Regions from separate parts of the Homo sapiens genome. Here region 2 is linked to region 1. Evidence: promoter capture Hi-C in human tissues and cell types (Jung and others, 2019). All regions are on one chromosome and are shown on one strand. Each heading gives the region's core, a stretch centred on a gene start or on the middle of the fragment in contact. The rest is flanking DNA. Distances are from core to core; before and after follow the strand shown.

Region 1 (2,517 bases), core at 8-2,507:
GTGTGGGTAGGGCCCCACCTTGGAGCACCCAGCATGTCCAGGCTGGTCCTGCGGGTGCGGGGTGCCTTGTCTCCCTTCCCCTCTCTTCATGTGCTCGGCTCACACTCCTTGTGTGTTTGGGCTGTCTCCAGCTGCGACCCCACCCAGGGCTGCACCCTTGGGTCTCCAAGGCACCGAATGAACAGAGGGATGTCTGTCGGCAGTCATAGGCGGGCGTAGTAAAAGACAGATGCCCACAGTCCACATATTGGGAAACTGAGGCTTTTGTGGAAGAACTCCAGGATAGGGGTGTGTGTGTGTGTGTGTGGTGGGGGTTGGGCACATGCTTTGTGTTATATTTAGGACGCAGAACCCTTCTCTTTTGGCCTCAGGCATAAGGCTGAAAGAGATCTGCTAATTTTTTTCGCGCGTGCGCGCGCGCGTATGTATGTATATGTGCGTGTGTGTGTGTGTGGCAAGGGGACAGAGAGAAGAGTGCAGCCGCCTGAGCCATTTGAAGAGATCCTGTTGCGTAGAATCCAGGTTCCCTACGAAACTACGAAAATTCACTCAGATTTGCTGTCCTAGCCCAGCGCAGTCGCTCACGCCTGTAGTTCCAGCACTTTGAGAGGCCGAGGCAGGTGGATCGCTTGAGCTGAGGAGTTCGAGACCAGTCTGGGCAACATGGCAAGACCCGCCGCCCTCTCACCCCATGTCTCCACAAAAAATACAAAAATTAGCCGAATGTGGTGGCGCGTGCGTGTAATCCCAGCTACTTAGGAGGCTGAAGTGGGAGGATCCCTTGGCCCCAGGAGACAGGGGTTGCAGAAAGCCGAGATCGTGCCACTGCACTCCATCCTGGGTGAGAGAGCAAGACCCTGTCTCAACAAAAAATTTTTAAAAAATAAAATAAATAATAATACAGCAAAAAGATTTGCTTTCTCGGCTTCAGTGTGGGCGGTAACTCCATCGTGCAATGAGAAAGGCGAATTTCTTCCAGACACCAATCCCGGAGGTCGCTTCTGTTGCTAGGCTCCCAGAAAGCAGGGTTCGGACGTCATTGGGAGGCGAGGCTAGAGCGGGGTTGTGTGTGGCGGAGGGAGGCGGGGCTGGAGGAAACGCTCGTTGCTAAGGAACGCAGCGCTCTTCCCGCTCTGGAGAGGCGCGACTGGGCTTGCGCAGTGTCGACGCCGGCGCCGGCGCGCCGGGGTTTGAAAGGCCCGAGCCTCGCGCGCTTGCGCACTTTAGCCAGCGCAGGGCGCACCCCGCCCCCTCCCACTCTCCCTGCCCCTCGGACCCCATACTCTACCTCATCCTTCTGGCCAGGCGAAGCCCACGACGTTGACATGCCGGAGATCCGCCTCCGCCATGTCGTGTCCTGCAGCAGCCAGGACTCGGTGAGGGACCTGCATGGGGGAGGTTGGAAGACGTGAGGGAATTAATGAGGATAGCTCTTAAAAGAGCTTTTGGGGTTCTCTTGGAAGTCTAAGGAGAGTCATGGGGGGATTTCCAGGAGGCTAAAAGTGAATTGTGGAGAGATGTTGAATTAGGGACGTTCCGGCGTCTAGGGAACTTCCGGAGAGAAAAGGAGGAATAGGGAAGCTTTCTTGGAGAGCCCATAGGTGAACTTCCACGGGAAAGTGTTGTAGGGGAAACTCCAGGCAGAGTGTCGGGGGATTAACGGGAGAGCTTAAATCTGGGGGTCGTAGAGGCCTTGGGAGGACTCAAAGGAATCATCTGAGAGCTGGAGGCCTAGCTGTCATCTCTGTGCCCTAATTCTCCTCTCCCACTGTTGTTTCCAGACTCACTGTGCAGAAAATCTTCTCAAGGCAGACACTTACCGAAAATGGCGGGCAGCCAAGGCAGGCGAGAAGACCATCTCTGTGGTCCTACAGGTGATCCTGCCACCCCACCTCCTCCTCACTAGGAGTCTGGAGTCCGGGGTTCCAGATTCTGCTCCTGAGCCAACTGGCAGTGGGTTTAGTCACTTTCTTTGCTGGGCCTCAGCTTCCTTACTCGGAAAATGGGCAGCATAATCCCTGTGCCCCTCAGCAGAGAGGAAAGGAGACCCAAGGATTAAGTCCAGGATGACCACAGGAATCAGTGTGTGGTCCTGGGCAGGTGGCATCTACTTTCTGGGTTCCAGTTTCCTCAGCTGGAACAAAATGAATCATTGCCACGTACTCTGCCTCCTGCAGCCAGTGGGCTCAGGGCTGGAAGGTGTCCAGGAAGGTCGTCTAAGCCAATCAACTCCACTTTAAAGAAGGGGAAACTGGCCGGATGCCGTGGCTCATGCCTGTAAACCCAGCACTTTCAGAGCCTGAGATGGGAGGATTGCTTGAGCTCAGGAGTTCCAGACCAGCCTGGGCAACATATCAAGACCCTGTCTCTATTTTTATTAAAATAAATAATTTTTTTTAAAGAATAATAGCCAGGTATGGTGGTTCACACCTGTAATCCCATCACTTTGGGAGGCCGAAGCTGGAGTATTGCATGAGCCCAGGAGTTTGAGACCAGCCTGGGCAATACAGTAAGATG
Region 2 (2,517 bases), core at 7-2,506, 150 kb after region 1:
AAATTATTATTATTATTTTTTGAGACAGAGTTTCACTCTTGTTGCCCAGGCTGGAGTGCAATGGCGCGATCTCGGCTTACCACAAACTCTGCCTCCCAGATTCAAGCGATTCTCCTGCCTCAGCCTCTCGAGTAGCTGGGATTATAGGCATGCGCCACCACGCCCGGCTGATTTTGTATTTTTAGTAGAGACCGGGTTTCTCCATGTTGGTCAGGCTGGTCTTGAACTTCTGACCTCACGTGGTCTGCCCGCCTCAGTCTCCTAAAGTGCTGGGATTACAGGCGTGAGCCACCGCACCCGGCCGCATTGTCCTTTTTTAAAAACTCTTCTTATACAGGGGTCTTATCTATATAAAAGCTAAGCTAAGTTATGTCTATGTGTGAGTGGGCTGACAGCATGACAAAATTTATTATTTTGCTGATTTAAGGAAAGTTATCTGCCAGGTGCAGTGGACCATGCTTGTAATCCCAGCACTTTGGGAGGCCAAGGTGGGAGGATCGCTTGAGCCCAGGAGTTTGAGACCAGCCTGGGCAACACGGTGCGGTCCTGTCTCTACAAAAAAAATACAAAAATTAGTGAGGTGTGGTGGCTCTCGCCTGTAGTCCCAGCTACTGGAGGGTGGGGGTGGGAGGTGGGAGGATTGCTTGAGCCGGGGAGGCAGAAGTTGCAGTGAACTGAGATCATGTCACTGCGCTCCAGCCTGGGTGACAGAGCGAGACCCCATCTCCAAAAATAATAAATAAATAAATAAATAAATAAATAAATAAAAGTTATTCTTGGCATTTTAGTGCATAAGTACACCAAAGCATGACTCTGTCTTGAAAGTATATATTGTTATGTGATATTGGGACATCTGGACATTCTTCTGTCACAGGAGTTTGTCCTTGCAGGCATTAATAAACTGCTTCTTTAGCTGTAAACATCTTATGACCGTGGGTTGTGATTGGCAAAGAGCGTACCTTGCTAGTTTTACGACAGGGTTGATTTTAAAATGGTGTCACCCTGGCTCTCCTATGCTCCTGTTTCCTTAACGTTAAGATGTCAATTCTCCTCAAACAATCCCAATCAAAATCCTTGCAGGATTTTTGTAGTAATTGACAAGATGATTCTAAAATTCATTTGGAAATGCAAACGACTTAGAATAGCAGTGACAACAACAACAACAAACAAACAAGCAATAACAAACTTGGCTAATGTATAATATATAATACTAAAAGCATATTTCATAAAGTTGATAAATTGGACTTCATTAAATTAAAAACCCATGCTCTGCTGGGTGCGGTGGCTCATGCCTATAATCCCAGCACTTTGGGAGGCCAAGGCAGGTGGATTGCCTGAGCTCAGGAGTTCGAGACCAGCCTGGACAACACAGTGAAACCCCATCTCTACTAAAATACAAAAAATTAGCCTGGTATGGCAGTGTAAGCCTGTAGTCCCAGCTACTCAGGAGGCAGAGGGAGGAGAACTGCTTGAACCCGGGAGGTGAGGGTTGCAGTGAGCCGAGATCGCGCCACTGCACTCCAGCCTGGGCGACAGAGCTAGACTCCGTCTCAAAAACAAACAAACAAACAAAAAAAACCGTGCTCTGTGAAAGACACTAAGAGAAGAAAAGGACAAGGCAGAGTAGAAGAAAATATTTTAAAATGATATACCTGTTAAGGAATTTGCATTTGTAATATGCAAATATGAAACATACTCAAAACTCAATAATAAAATAAACATCACGATAAAAAAGAGCCATCCATTTGAAGAGGCATTTTATGTTATTTAGATCTGTGCTGTACAATACAGTAGCCACTATATCATATAGTAGCCACATGTGGATACTGAATGCTTGAAATGTAACAAGTCCAAATTAAGATGTATCATGATTGTGAAATACACACCACATTTTGAAGACTTAGTATAAAAAAGAATGTAAGATAGCTCATTAAAATTTGTATTGATTACATGTTTAATGGTAATATTTTGGATATACCATTCAGTTAAATAAAATACATCTCTATTGCTATGATTTTGCCATTTCAAGAATATTATATACATGGATTCATATAGTACATATATGACCTTTGAGATGGACTTTTTTCCACTCAGCATAATGCCATTGAGATCCAGCCAAGTTTCTGTGTGTATAAATAGTTTGTTTCTTTCTATTGTGGAGTTTAACATTCACCTACTGTAAGACATTTTGGTTGTTTTCATTTTGGGCTATTACAAATAAAGCTGCTAAGAACAAGCACATACATGATTTTGTGTTGACTTAAGTTTCCATTTCTTGTGGATGAACGCTCAGCAGTATGACTGCTGGGTAGATGGTAAGTGTGTGTTTAGTTTTTAAATAAATGGCCAAACTATTTTCCAGAGTGGGTGCACCATTTCACATTCTTACAGCAATATATGAGAGATCTAGTTTCTCAATTCCTCTCCAGAATTTGGCATTGTCACTCCTTCCTTTTCTTTCTCTTTCTTTCCTCTCTTTTCTTTTCTTTCTTTCTTTCTCTTTCTTTCTTTCCTTCC

What was found. The method cuts DNA at HindIII sites, captures the fragments that hold promoters and counts their contacts. A contact is called where the count stands out against the background at its distance.
Region 2: a contact is called between a fragment that was not itself captured here and the fragment with the promoter of XRCC1 in region 1, in 1 of the 25 tissues and cell types used here (adrenal gland).

The regions. Positions count from the first base shown.
Region 1 is chr19:43,574,267-43,576,783 of GRCh38, reverse strand. It overlaps XRCC1 (X-ray repair cross complementing 1), which reads left to right and starts at 1,257. Exons shown (of 17, transcript NM_006297.3): 1 at 1,257-1,376; 2 at 1,782-1,874. The coding sequence starts at 1,326. PINLYP (phospholipase A2 inhibitor and LY6/PLAUR domain containing) reads right to left here and starts at 983. Exons shown (of 6, transcript NM_001193621.3): 1 at 1-983. RefSeq lists enhancers at 1-356, 357-883, 884-1,043 and a silencer at 1,144-1,303. The HindIII fragment of the contact is 26,650 bases long and covers 1-2,517 here.
Region 2 is chr19:43,422,212-43,424,728 of GRCh38, reverse strand. No RefSeq gene overlaps it. Among named protein-coding and RNA genes, the nearest start is that of TEX101, 8.6 kb to the right of the region's middle. The HindIII fragment of the contact is 7,747 bases long and covers 1-2,517 here.